Linked DNA regions of Homo sapiens: regions 1, 2, 4 and 5 are each linked to region 3. Evidence: promoter capture Hi-C in 16 types of primary human blood cells and fetal thymus (Javierre and others, 2016). All regions are on one chromosome and are shown on one strand. Each heading gives the region's core, a stretch centred on a gene start or on the middle of the fragment in contact. The rest is flanking DNA. Distances are from core to core; before and after follow the strand shown. Region 1 holds the start of ING2 (inhibitor of growth family member 2). Region 2 overlaps RWDD4 (RWD domain containing 4). Region 3 holds the start of LRP2BP (LRP2 binding protein). Region 4 overlaps LOC105377582 (a long non-coding RNA gene). Region 5 has its middle 7.7 kb from the start of CDKN2AIP.

Region 1 (2,700 bases), core at 201-2,700, 1.9 Mb before region 3:
CTAAGAAGATCCAAATTTGTCACCACTCACTCACATTTTAACTCAAAGGTAGTACTCACAATTGGCCTTGTTTACATAGGCATTCCATTAAAATTATCCATGCATTCATTCTATTTGCACCCATTTCTTTCAAAAATGTCCATCTGTAATTAAAATCAGCTCCTCTGCCTGACATCTCATTTACACTACACCGAAATTAAACCCCACTAGGAGATCACGTAGATTATGGGGCCGAGGGCCCGCCCGCTGACTAGGTTTTCACTCGCGTCTCCTCCATGCCCCAGGTCCCCTCCGATTGCAGTCCTGGGGCAGGACTGAGCAAAAAGTCCCGTAAAGCTGGCGTGTGCCCCACTCCGCCAGGAAGCCTCACCGACGTCCTGTGCTTAAATGTTCTGACACCCCCCAAAAGCAGTTGTTTTTAAAGGCTGTCTGTGGGACCAATGCGTTGTCAAACAGATGCCGTCCCGCATCCCCTCCCCCTAAATGACACAGAAGATTCCAGCGTAGGGGAAGGGCCACGAAACCCGCAGGGCACACGACGCCGGGGGCCGGAGGGAGCACCGCCTACCTCCCTGATCAAGCCCCGCGGTGCCGGGCGAGCCCGAGGGCCCGGCAGGAGGCGGGCGGCAGCCCCAGGCGAGCTCGGAGGCGGCGGGAACGCAGCCGCCGCGCATGCCGGGAGCCGCACGCCGCCCGCCGGGGCGCGCAGTCCCGCAGGCCTCGCTCCAGGTCGTCCGAAAAGGAACCGCCTGCTGCTCCTTTGCAGGCTCGCGAGGAGCCGCACTCGGACCGCCTGATGGGGAAAAAGCCGGTGTGGCCGGGCGGAGCGAGCCGAGCGGAGCTGGAGCTGCCCCTCCCAGCGGGGAGGACGGCACGAAGGACCGAGCCGCCTCCCCTCCCGGGTCCCATTCAGACGCGAGGCGCAGAGACTGGCTCCCCGGGCTTCCCCTTTAAGGGGGGCGGGGCGCGGCCTGCCGTTTGGCCGCCCCCCACACCCTCCCCCGCTAGCCCAGAGCCGGCAGACCAATCGCCCGGGCGGCGGAGCGAAGGCGGGAGAATGCGAACCCTCCGGTAGGCGGTAGGGGCGGGCCCCGGCCTTATTCGCAGGGAGCGCTGCGCAGGCGCAGAGGCGGCCGCGGGCGGAGGGGCGGGGGCAGGCTAGCGGGAGGCTCTCCGTGAGGCACGGAGGGTGACTGGGGACAGGCGGGCGGCGACGGGCTTGTCATGGGGATCCGGGCTGCGAGACGGCACTCGTAGCATCTGGGGACTCCGAGGGGGACAGGAAGTGTCAGCGCCCGGGACCCCGGCGCCGGCCCCGCCGAGGGGATCCCCACTGCTCCGGTCCTGGAGCGGGAGGGGAGAAAGGAGGGAGCCCCGGTTTCGCCCCGCCCCTGGGCTGGTGCTGCGGGGGCGGGGAGTGAGGGCTGCTCTGGGGGGAGTGGAGATCGGGGAGCGCGGCCGTGCCCTCTCGAGCGGCTGCGGGGTCCCCGCGGCGCCGGGCTGCTGAGCTGAGGGCCCGCGGCGGCCGCGGCCGGTGCATGTGCGGCTGCTGGATGCGGAGGCGGCGGCGACGGCGCGGATCGGCAGGATGTTAGGGCAGCAGCAGCAGCAACTGTACTCGTCGGCCGCGCTCCTGACCGGGGAGCGGAGCCGGCTGCTCACCTGCTACGTGCAGGACTACCTTGAGTGCGTGGAGTCGCTGCCCCACGACATGCAGAGGAACGTGTCTGTGCTGCGAGAGCTGGACAACAAATATCAAGGTAGGAGCCGCGGGGCTGCCGGCCTCGGGAGCCGGTGGCGGGGAGCCTGTCCGGGGGAGTGCCACCTTCCCTTTCTCCCGTGACAGTCTCCCCGAGCGCACCGAGGGTCTGCCGAGCGGGACTGGGAGGACTGGAGACCGGGTTGGCGGCCCTCCGTGGCCCCGCGGTGGGCGAGTACTTCTCTGGGGTCCCCAGAGTGGGGGTGGGGGCCGCTTGTCAGCCCCCGCTGCAGACCCAGCGGCTGCAGCTGCCGCTGAGGGGAATCAGCCATTTTAAGCAGCAAGCATTTGTTCAGGCGCTGGCCCGCCCCGTGCCGCAGACCCTGCGGCCCCGGCCCGGGACTGCAGCCGGGCAAGGGTCGGAGGGAGTGAGCGGCCGGGCTCCCGCTGGTCTGCGGGGCGCGCTTCCCCACCTCACTCGCCCCCACCCCGGAGTGCGGGTGCTTTGGAACGTGCGGGGGGAGGGGGCGAGAGGCCGCGGAGGCGGACTGAGGGGGCCTTCCTCCGCGCTCCTGCCCCGGCCCGGAGGAGAGCAGTCCGTTCCGCTCTCTCGCCCCGGGAAAGTTCGCGGGCGCCCCGCGTTGTAGCCCTAGCCCAGTTCTTTCGGCAAAATGGTTAAGAGGGGAGGGGTCCCCCGCGGGAGAGGAAGAGAGGGGCGTGTGTGGCGGGGAGGGCCCCCGCGCCGGGGGCGGGGCCTGCGGGCTTGACGAGGGGCGTGGGAGGGGCGCGGCGCGCGTTCCCGCGGGCCTGGAAAATGGCTGGTCGCGAGAGGGGCGGTGGCGAGCTGGCTGCTGGGGAGGGAGTCGGGGCTGTGCGGGGGCGTTGGTTCGGCCCCAGCGGAGTCCGAATCGGGGTTTGCAGCATGTTTTGCGGTGATGTTTCCAACCTCTTTCCCAGTCAATGGATCAGGACGGCGATCAGCAGCTCGGACCGTCGCGGAT
Region 2 (2,759 bases), core at 144-2,643, 1.7 Mb before region 3:
GATAGAGACAAGGCTATTCCTGTCTTCAGACAGATATTTATATAACTTACAAAACTGCAATATGAATAATAGTTCAAAAGTAACAAAACAAAGTATGAAGAAATGGGGAACGGCTAATTCTGATTCAAAGTCAGAGCAGAGACAGGAGACATGGCCCAAATATTAATGTATCACAGAGAAGGCCTGAGTTAGGCCTTAAAGGAGAGGCAGGGGAATAATGGACCTGAGGTGAGAGAAAGATCAAACAATGTGTGCAAAAGCATAGTACTAGAAAAAAATACACGGGGGGAAATGTCACAACCCATTATGTCTAAGGCATGTGAGTGGAGGGGAAAGTTTGGAGACAGAAACAAACAGAAGGATTTGGAGTGTCAAGTGAAAAAATTTCGTCCTCATTTTATAGGCAAGAGGAACCCAGAGAAAAACATTTTTAAAGAAGAGAATGGGATGACAACTTAAATGCTTCAGAGTGCCAACTAGTACTGTTGGAGGACTCATGGTGGAGTATAAGGGGGAAGCTAAAGAAAGTATTAAACCGGGGAAGTCAACTAGGAGGCTACCAGACTATTCCGTGCAAGAACTGAGGGGTGTGACTCAGGCCACAGGAAGAACTTTACCCCTGGCCCTTTGACTATCAACACACTGTCTCCTAATCTCATGTATCATTCTTCTTAAATCCATCCTATGGGTCACGTCAGTGTCCATCTTATAGTACATATAAATGTCCTAGGGCATTCTGCACAACATGCTCTAAATCACTGCCATTGTGAATGAGATATTTAGGAGAGTATAGGGAAATTCTCGACCTCCCATTTGCTAAGGAGAGAGTAGCAACTGGATTCAAACCGAAGGGCCTAGGACTTAGCTCCACTGTTAACTTTGGACATTTGAGGTCCATGGTTATTACATACTTGGAGATGGTGTAAGGACTGTTAAGCTTGAAAGGGAATTGAGAACAGAAACTTATTTTCTGTGATGGTCATCCATCGATCATGCATAAGAATCATTTCTAATAGTTTAAACTGTGACAATGTTAATAATAACTGTAAATCTTTTACAAAAAAAACTTCCCCATTCCGCTACTTATAATTATTTGTGTGTTTTTTTTGTTTTTTTTTTTGAGTCCCGCTCTGTCGCCCAGACTGGAGTGCAGTGGCACAATCTCTGCTCACTGGAACCTCCGCCTCCTGGGTTCAAGTGATTCTCCTGCCTCAGCCTCCCAAGTAGCTGGGACTACAGGCATGCACCATCATGCGTGGCTAATTTTTGTATTTTTAGTAGAGACAGGGTTTCACCTTGTTGGCCAGGCTGGTCTAGAACTCCAGACTTGAGGTGATCCGCCTGCCTCGGCCTCTCAAAGTTCTGGGATTAAAGGTGTGAGCCACTGTGCCCCGCCTACTTATAATCATTTGAATAAAAGGTTTATATGACTTATTTACAAAATAAAATACTGTTACTATTTTTTTTTTGAGACAGAGTCTCGCTCTGTCGCAGTGGCTTGATCTCGGCTCACTGCAAGCTCTGCCTCCCGGGTTCACGCCATTCTCCTGCCTCAGCCTCCCGAGTAGCTGGGACTACAGGCGCCCGCCACCATGCCCGGCTAATTTTTTGTATTTTTAGTAGAGACAGTGGGGTTTCACCATGTTGGCCAGGATGGTCTCGATCTCCTGACCTCGTGATCCGCCCACCTTGGCCTCCCAAAGTGCTGGGATTACAGGTGAGAGCCACCGCGCCCAGCCCTACTGTTACTATTTTATGTTAAAGATAAGATTAAATAATTTTTAAGGTTTTTTCCATTTCTAGTATCTTATGATTCTGGTACAATAAAAACAAGTTTATCTTGGTTTTTTAAGCTTCTGAATTAAGTTTTCAAACGTTAAAAATGACTGATGTTAGGGTGATGTTTCCATTTAAATGCTACAGAAAATACAGACATAATAAATTTAAACAAGTTTAAAAAACAAAATAAGCATTTTTAGCCACTTTCAGTCTTTTCTAGAAAAGTTCTAAGTGCTCTTATTCATGCCATGTCTTACCCTATATTGAAAAGAAACTGGACTTAATTCCCGGAAACTTTCATCTCCTTCATAAATAGAGCGTAATGCTTCTAGTTCCATCTGAAATAAAGAACTGAATGAGTTTTGTTTAGTGGTATAAATGAATTAGAAATAGAGGGTCTTTACTTTCTCATTCAAGCCCACTCAACTATGTAAAAGCTTGACTAACTTATATAACCTTAGATACTTACCACATAGGTGCATGCAGCAACACATGACAATATTACTACCAATGATACTTACTTTCAAACTCTGTGTCAGGGACTACTAAGCACTGTACAATGTATGATCGCGCTGACTTCTCAAATCAACCCTGTCAAGAGGCTCCTATTATTTTCTCCTTCCTAGGGAAGCAAGGAAGTCTCCCTGTAAAGCCACTCCAGAGCAAGCGCTCTTAGAACTTGGCTAAAGACGAACCTGGGTGCAAAGAGCATTAAACCTAAAGATAAGAACTATGAAAAACAATACTTTCCCATTATTTACATACATTTCTTTTATATGTAATCCTTCCCACAGTGATACAAAGCTCTAAAAAACACCTAAGGGCAAGAAAAAGAACTTAAGAAAAAGGCTGACAAGTATCTACCCAAGATGAGACAGGACTGTCAGAGAAAATGTAACTAGTAATCCTTGCTTGGACATAGTTCTTAGAACATTTTGGTATTACAACTGAGAAGTTCATCACTGTGATCACCGATGAAT
Region 3 (2,700 bases), core at 141-2,640:
TTGTAATATAATAAACTGGAATAGACGTTAGTGGTTAATACTTTCTCATTTGTCGGCCTTTCTCTATTTCACATCACAGCTGCATGTGTATCACACACTGCCCCCAGACTGAACTACATATAGTGCTCTCAATACTGGAAGATATTTTACACTTCTTAGAAATACTCTTCCCTTCCTGGACTCCTTAGCAAACTCTTACTACTCAAGATTCAGCCCACACATCTCTCATCTATTCGGTCACTTACTCATCATCCAACGTTTTTTTTAACACTCGCTGTAAATGGCATCCTCGTTCTGGAAACGCATCTACCAGCAATTAAAACATGTAGAATTAGCACTGCTTAGGAGAACGCCTATAAAATATGCATCTTAGATCATCTTCCGTTTTAGAAAATTGATCCCACCTGCTACACGCCTGGTGAAACTCCAGTTACTTGCCAGTAAGATATTGTCCCCCAAATGTACTTATCCTGTTTTTGTGCATTATAAGCTTTGTTCAGTTTATAGTTTCTAGGCCCATTACTAAAGTCAAGTCAGATATCCAGCTGAGATACAACTTTTTTTTCTGAAAACAATGTGAGCAATGGACAGGTACGCTGTGATTAAAGGGAGAAAAGCTGTAACGACTCCCCAAATTTCCTTTCCTTATGAAATTTACGTATGTAACAGGAAGTTAAAAAATAACTACCACTTAATGCATACTGAACAGAATCTTGTTTCAAAGAAAAGATATGAAATATGGAGGCACTTTCACCACACAAATATCCCACTACATATGCTAACTGCAGTATTTATGTTCAAAACTGTAAGAACGTGTCTGATACCCTTTATTAGTTAGGAATTCCTGAAAATGAACTTCTGTGCAAACCTGAAGCTTCAACACGTGTTTTAAAAAGCAGTGCTTATTGAATTGATAAACAAAAGCGAAACTGGCAATATCAACGTGTGCTCACCTCACAAATCTGACAACAGTATCTCTACACTGCCGTTCTTTAAACATCATTAAAAGATATTGTGAATAGTTTAAATATTAAAAATGTGGAATATAAGAACGATTCTATATATTTGAACACACATTTATATTCAAATATTCATATGAATAAAAATGCTTAAAACTACCCCTTGGGTAACTAAGTATAACAACATAAACTTGCGATTGCAAATTTTATGGCTCTTACTACAAAACAAAAAGTAGAATGAAAAGACCACTTATCTTTAGAGGACAAGCATGAACTTGTTTTCTAACAGCATAACAATAAACGTATTTATTTCTCCGAGCTTTCAAAGGCATCAACAGAAGGGAATCACTAAAAATGTAGGGGAAAAGAAACACTCGGCTGGAGCTTTGGTTTCTAAGCAGATCCTTCTGGAAAGACGCTTAGGGAGAGTCTAGGGAGCAGCTCTGACGTCAGTAGCTGCCATCGGAAGTCAGGTCATGTTCTACAAAAAGCAGTGACGCACGCCCGACAGCACCCGCGGGGCCGGACAGCGGCTTCACCAGCCCCGCGGGTCCGAATCGCACGCGGCCGGGTCCGCTCTCCCGGGAGGAGAGCCCGGCGTGGACCAGCGTGACGACCCCAGCGTGCTGCGGCCTCTCCCCGAGGGCCCCTCCACAAGGGTCCCTGCGCGGGCCGGGCTCGGCCGTTGCCACTCGGGACAGCCATCCCCTCGAGTTCGCGCTCGCCGTCCCCGCCTTCACCTCCCGGGTTGGGAGGCGGGCGACTGCGCGCGAGGTAAAGGAACTTGCGTTCCCCGGCGCCGAGGCGGCAGCAGCGCAGTGCACAGCGGCTTCTGAAGGCGGCGTCGACGGGGAGCTGCGCGTGGCTCCCAGTTTCCTGGTTACGTGCGCGCCGGCAGAGCCAAAACCTGCAGCCGAAACTCCCGCTTCTCCGTAAGGATTAAAGGGCGGGCGCACTACCGGGAGACGTGTCAAACTCAGCGCGCCTCATGGCGGCCGCGGAGCCCCACCCGCTCCTACTCCAGTCCTCTCACGCCCACTGACTTACCCTGCGCACGCGCGCTGAGGCTCCGTGGGGCCGCCGCGGGCCCCGCCCCGAGGTGGGAGGGCCTGACGCATCCACAGCTGGCCAATCGGCGGATGGCCTCGCGCGCCCGCCCCCTCCCCCTGCCCCCGGCGCCGGGCTCCACGTGCCAGTGTTTGTGTACGTGCGGCCGTGGCGGGGCTGGACAGGGTCCGGGTCGTTGAGGATTAGGCTGCTCGGGCGTAACCGGAGCTGGGGCGCGGCTGCCAAGGGCCGGCCCGGAAGTCCCAGCGGTCTTTAAATTCTCCCGTGCTAGGGCCAGCCTGCGCATTCTTACCTGTCGGGGTGCGGCGAGTGTCTCACCTCTCTGCACTTCCAAGGACTCTTGTCATCTGCCTTAGGCGGGAAATGCTGTTGCTGGATTGCAACCCCGAGGTGAGATTCGGGCTCACAGAGCCCGAGCTTTTGTCCTGCAGGCTCAAGCTTCTAGATTCGTCTTCTCGTTAATGCGGGGACGGACCACTGGGCGCTGCCTGGTCAGAGCTGGTTGTGAAGGGCGGGGAGGTTTCCAGCCCGGAGGGGCGCGGGACTGGACAAAGGTGGGAAGGGTGCTGGATCTGTTCTCTTCCTGCAGGTGGATGGTCTGAAGCATTTGCTGGAGACAGGGGCCTCGGTCAACGCACCCCCGGATCCCTGCAAGCAGTCGCCTGTCCACTTA
Region 4 (2,726 bases), core at 188-2,687, 1.1 Mb before region 3:
TTCAGCAACTTTTTGTTGAGCACGCCCTTTGTATCAGGCATGGTCCTAGGCTCAGGGGATGCCTGACCTTGTAAAGTTCCAAGTGAGTAGCTCTCGAAAAACCACAAATATGTAGATTTTTATGTAAATCAATACTCAGTGTCAGCATCTAATTTCTGAGTGCTCAGATGTAATAATACTCTCCTGCAAGTTGTAAAACAAACTGGTTGGTGAGGCAATAAGGAGGTGCCCCGGTGTGTAAGAGGAAAGGACCCAGCTCCTTTCCTCTTCTGCAGAGGAAGAGGTGCAGAGCTTCTGCTTGCACAAGTCCGCGTTCAATAACACAAAGCAATAGGAGAGGCAAGATTCTGAGGAGGATTCTGAAAACACCATGCATTACACAAAAATGTGAAGCAAAAGATTGCATACATTTGGGTGGATGGTGGGAAGGGGGCGTTTGCTTGCTTGCTTTTATCTTAATTCTCCTTCCAAAATGGAATGTTTTCAGTCTTTGCTTGACTACAGCTGCTCACAGAAAACTTAGGACCAGTTACTTTTTTTTTGAGATGGAGTCTTGCTCTGTCACCAGTGCTGGGTGCAGCAGCACCATCTCAGCTCACTGCAGCCTCTGCTTCCTGGGTTCAACTGATTCTCGTGCCTTGGCCTCCCAAGTAGCTGGGATTACAGGCGTGCGCCACCACACCTGGCTAATTTTTGTATTTTTAGTAGAGATGGGGTTTCACCATGTTGGCCAGGCCGGTCTGGAACTCCTGTCCACAAGTGATCTGCCCGCCTCAGCCTCCCAAAGTGCTGGGATTACAGGCGTGAGCCACCACACCTAGCCCAGTTATTTCCTTTAATTAACAACATAATATTGATGGTCCATAACAAGCCAATAAAAGCAAAAAGACGCCTTGACATTCCACAGATCATAGCTCAATTTGAAACGAATGAAAAACATTTAAATGTAAATTAATTTGGTATGTTTGTAATTATTGTCTAAATAGATGAACAAGCCATATTTTACATATATTTCTAATCAATCAAATGACTACAAGAGAAATGACTACAAGAAAGTCTCTTACCTACTTTTGGGGAGGTTTTTTTTCAAGTACAGTAAGTCCTCACCTAACATCATGAATAGGTTCTTGGAAACTGCGACTGGCAAAAGTACGAATATAGACAAGATTTACGTACAGGTATGTTCATCCTGTGCTATCCGTTATAGAAGAAATATTGGTTATAAAATTATGTTTGTCAATAGATTTAAATATTAGGAAACCATTAAATGTCATGTTTTCAAATGGTAATATCTAGGGACTATACAATATAACGTTTACAAAAATAAACAGGACACAAAACTGTGTTTATAATACAATAAATAAAATGTGTTCTATGTAAGATATATAATGTATTTATTATATATAGTATTTGATTAATATATAGTATATTATTTATATATTATAAATACATACACATATATAGAAAAAAGCTGGAGGGAAATACACTCAAAATACTAACAGTAGTTTTCTCTAGGTGGCGGGATTATCAGTGATTTTTATATTCTTCCGATTGCTTTTTCTATTTTATCGGTTTTTCCACACGAGCCTGAAGATCTGCCAAAAAGGAAAGAATATGTTGGCCAGGCTGACCCAAGTTTTGTGGTTTCTGTGACAATTATACTTCTAATTCTAAAATAATAAACTGACATCATTTTTAACATCTTAGATATTTTATTGCAATAAGTAATATATTCATAATGAAAAATTTGGCAAGTACAGAAAAGTCAGAAGAATTAGGGAGAGAGCTGTGCAAATTTCCACCAGTCAGAAGGAAAGGCTGATACTGACATCCCACAGTTGTCTGAGTCATGGGGTATGTTTGCCATGGAAGTGCCTCATGAGCTGCCACTGGGGAGCCTGAGGACTGGCTGGGTCATGCAGTCTGGGTGAGATGCTGCAACAGAAACCACCCCCCACTACCAACCAACTTGAATCAATCCCCTTGTACATCATTAGAGTTTCACATAACAGTGCACCTGAAGAAAGGCTCCATCCATGGCAAAACAACAACAAAAAAAGCAACCCTTGGTTACCACCATCTTAAGCCTCTTCCCTAAAGCTAAGCATTTAGGTTGCTTCCAGTTTTTCTAACCACAGACTGGAAGCCAGAATAAATGTCTCTGTATAGTCATCTTTGCTCACATTCTGCCTCTGTGATGGAAATTTCAAGAAAAAAGTAACCATCATTTTCAAAGCTCTTGATATTTTCAAACTGCCCACACAAAAATCAACCTGTTTACCTCCCATCAACTTGCCCATCTAACCAAACCCTGCATGCATTGAGCACAATGTAAAACAATCTTTAATCTGATCGATTTAAAATGGAGTCCCTTGTTGTGCCTGTCACATTTTAAGGAATGTGTGTCCCTTGGGGATCTCTTCCAAGAACCCTTCCGCCAGTACAAGCTGCCATCCCGCCAGCCCCTATGTAGAGGACATGGCACCTTCCCACTAAAATGATGCTGGAGTTCTCCAAGTGGACTTGGGCTTGGATTTTCTTCTCACTAGGCTCCCAGGCAACCACATGATTGAACTCGCAGAAGGCCAGGCTGTGGAATAAGCTCCCAGGAAAAATGGCAGAAGCCAGGGTCTAACATACCCCGCTTCCCAAATACTCTAGAGCTAGACTCTGAGAATGGGAAGGCGTCCTGGAGAGCAATCATCTTTGAGGCCTTTGGCTACATA
Region 5 (2,700 bases), core at 164-2,663, 2.0 Mb before region 3:
TGGTGTGATCTTGGCTCTCCTCTACCTCCGCCTCCCGGGTTCAAGCAATTCTCCTGTCTCAGCCTCCCAAGTAGCTGGGATTAGAGGCACATGCCACCACACCCACTAATTTTTGTATTTTTAGTAGAGATGGGGTTTCACCGTATTGGTCAGGCTGGTTTTGAACTCCTGACCTCAGGTGATCCGCCTGCCTCGGCCTCCCAAAGTGCTGGGATTACAGGAGTGACCCACCGTGCCCGGCCTGATCCACATATTCTTTATTAGCTTGCAAATTTTCCACAAGGCTGCTCTATCTATTCTATAAGGTTAAAGAAATTGCTTATGAAAAATTAAAAATCAGCCTGTAGTATTAATACCTAAGGGGGCTTTGGCAGATATGGCTAAGGATGCTCCTTCCCTCATTTCCTCAGGGGATTCCGGGGGCGGCTCTAACCTTTAAAACTGCCTCTGCCTGCTTCTGCCTCTGCTCGAGGCGTGGGAGTTCTATGGCCATTGCCTTTTACAAGATGCAGCAGAGAAGAGAAGGCAGGAGAAGCAATGCCCTGGCTTTTATGGGCATAATAACAGGTTTCGGAGGACAAATGAAGACCCAGGCTACCTCATATCCAGATAAGAAATTATCCAATGGAAAGGAAAACTTGAAGGGTGAGGAGGGAAGCTAGGGAATTCGACTGCTGGTATGGTTCCCAGAAGAGAGGCCCCTTGTCCTGCCTACCTGTACCTCCAAGGCCGAATTGCAACTGGCCAGCGGGGACGCGGCGGTGGGGTGGGGCGGGGGGGGGGGGGCGGGTGGTGCGGGGAGAAAGGGAAGCAGAGAGGTGGGGAAGGATGATGGCAATTTTAAAAGGTTTGGGGGACCCATGAGTAAGGTGGCCATGCCCATTCCCAGCAGAAGCCAGCGAAGCTGCAAGATCTGGAGCATCCATCCCTTCTCCCTGGCACGGCACAGAGGAGTAGACTAGAAATGACAGTGTGCCATGTGTGGGCAAGTGGACTGAGAGGGCCTCAGAGAGAACCTGTGCTCCCCAGCACAGTGCAGTAGGCGATGGAATGTTCACCCGTGCCTGAGAGGGGCATGAGCACAGCAGGGAGAGTCACCTGACCTAAAGAGGCGCTGCTACAGGGATGAGGAGGAAGCAGCAGTGGCCTTTGTGGGCCAAAACCTGGTGGGAAGATGGCTATTTCAGGGGATGCCTGGGAGCGCCTCACCTTGTCCCTGACCCTGCCTTTGTGCCTCAGCACTGTGTCAGCTCCCTGGAATGGATACTCAAATTCGTACAGAAGGAAGTAAAATCTTCAGGTGACTGAAATTAAGTTTCCACCATTTGGTAGGATGGGACCTTAAAATAGAAAACAAATTTAGGCCGGGCGCCGTGGCTCACTCCTGTAATCCCAGCACTTTGGGAGGCCGAGGTGGGTGGATCACCTGAGTTCAGGAGTTTGACACCAGCCTGGCCAATGTGGTGAAACCCTGTTCTCTACTAAAAATACAAAAAATCAGCCGGGCATGGTGGTGTGCACTTGTAATCCCAGCTACCAGGGAGGCTGAGGCAGGAGAATTGCTTGAACCCAGGAGGCAGAGGTTGCAGTGAGCCGAGATTGTGACACTGCACTCCAGGCTAGCGAGAGAGCAAGACTCTGTCTCAAAAAAAAAAAAAAAAAAAGAAAAGAACAAAAATTTAATCAGAGGAAAATACTGTAGCTACATTTGTTTACACACCTTGAAATTATGGACAGAGATTTGTACCTACCATACTCAGAATTTATTTGAAAAAAAATGTTCTCTGCATAAACAACAAACAATTATTAAACTTTGTCAATATTACCAAATAAAACCTAAAATGTTTCTAAAGTTCATTAATTGGATTTAAACTATGTGCCTTTATAGACATCATCTCGTTTATTTCTTATGATTCATAGGTGCTGGTATCCCCTTTTACAGGTAAGGAAACGAAGACTTAGAAAAGTGAAATAATTTGCCCATGGACACAATGATGGTAATTAGCAGAACCAGAATTCCAACTCAGGAATGTCTGACTCCCAAGTCTATATTTTTGATCACTAAATTAAGCTCTATGCTGTTCTTTCCTCTGGCTTTCTAGATCCCTCCAGGAACATTCCTTTCTGCTTCCTTGGCTGCTCACATTTACAAGGCAATCACACATTGATGAACTGGAGCCCTGGGTACAAAGAAGCACAATTTTTTTTTTATCCTTCCTGCTCCTAATTCCCAAAGGGCCCAACAATTAAGTGGATTATTGTGGTCATAATCTTAGTTTTTTGATTTAACAAGTCTTTTTTTTTTTTTCTTTTGAGATACAATCTCACTCTGTTGCCCAGGCTGGAGTGCAGTGGCGCGATCTCAGCTCACTGCAATCTCCGCCTCCTGGGTTCAAGCAATTCTCCTGCTTCAGCCTCCTGAGTAGCTGGGATTACAGGTGCGCACGACTATGCCTGGCTAATTTTTGTATTTTTAGTAAAGACGGGGTTTCACCATGTTGGTCAAGCTGGTCTCAAACTCCTGACCTCTGATCTGCCTGCCTTGGCCTCTCAGAGTGTTGGGATTACAGGCGTAAGCCACTGTACCTGGCCTGGATTTAACAAGTCTTAGCTCAGTTCTTATTTATCTTTCAGTCACCACACCTTGTGAGTTAATCATTGGACAATAATCAGCTTGGACAGTAAGTTAACCACTCTGAA

What was found. Contacts are between HindIII fragments. The CHiCAGO score rates a contact against its expected background, and 5 or more counts as called.
Region 1: a contact is called between the fragment with the promoter of ING2 here and the fragment with the promoter of LRP2BP in region 3, in 6 of 17 cell types (fetal thymus, monocytes, total B cells and 3 more). The highest score is 7.9, in fetal thymus.
Region 2: a contact is called between a fragment that was not itself captured here and the fragment with the promoter of LRP2BP in region 3, in 2 of 17 cell types (monocytes and fetal thymus). The highest score is 6.9, in monocytes.
Region 4: a contact is called between a fragment that was not itself captured here and the fragment with the promoter of LRP2BP in region 3, in 3 of 17 cell types (fetal thymus, total B cells and total CD4 T cells). The highest score is 7.3, in fetal thymus.
Region 5: a contact is called between a fragment that was not itself captured here and the fragment with the promoter of LRP2BP in region 3, in 1 of 17 cell types (non-activated CD4 T cells). The highest score is 7.0, in non-activated CD4 T cells.

What each region holds. Positions count from the first base shown.
Region 1 is chr4:183,503,608-183,506,307 of GRCh38, forward strand. It overlaps ING2 (inhibitor of growth family member 2), which reads left to right and starts at 1,451. Exons shown (of 2, transcript NM_001564.4): 1 at 1,451-1,760. The coding sequence starts at 1,589. It overlaps ING2-DT (ING2 divergent transcript), which reads right to left and starts at 908. Exons shown (of 3, transcript NR_033995.2): 1 at 569-908. RefSeq lists silencers at 533-1,572, 1,793-2,512. The HindIII fragment of the contact is 10,965 bases long and covers 1-2,700 here.
Region 2 is chr4:183,653,845-183,656,603 of GRCh38, forward strand. It overlaps RWDD4 (RWD domain containing 4), which reads right to left. Exons shown (of 8, transcript NM_152682.4): 2 at 2,037-2,117. Among named protein-coding and RNA genes, the nearest start is that of RWDD4, 4.0 kb to the right of the region's middle. The HindIII fragment of the contact is 916 bases long and covers 936-1,851 here.
Region 3 is chr4:185,394,534-185,397,233 of GRCh38, forward strand. It overlaps LRP2BP (LRP2 binding protein), which reads right to left and starts at 1,391. Exons shown (of 9, transcript NM_001377440.1): 1 at 246-1,391. ANKRD37 (ankyrin repeat domain 37) reads left to right here and starts at 2,308. Exons shown (of 5, transcript NM_181726.4): 1 at 2,308-2,417; 2 at 2,617-2,700. The coding sequence starts at 2,391. RefSeq lists silencers at 1,514-1,703, 1,924-2,293 and an enhancer at 1,824-1,893. The HindIII fragment of the contact is 1,591 bases long and covers 873-2,463 here.
Region 4 is chr4:184,261,211-184,263,936 of GRCh38, forward strand. It overlaps LOC105377582 (a long non-coding RNA gene), which reads right to left. Exons shown (of 6, transcript XR_939552.3): 6 at 1,419-1,595. Among named protein-coding and RNA genes, the nearest start is that of ENPP6, 45 kb to the left of the region's middle. The HindIII fragment of the contact is 3,740 bases long and covers 1-2,726 here.
Region 5 is chr4:183,435,554-183,438,253 of GRCh38, forward strand. No RefSeq gene overlaps it. Among named protein-coding and RNA genes, the nearest start is that of CDKN2AIP, 7.7 kb to the right of the region's middle. RefSeq lists an enhancer at 2,444-2,700. The HindIII fragment of the contact is 8,424 bases long and covers 1-2,700 here.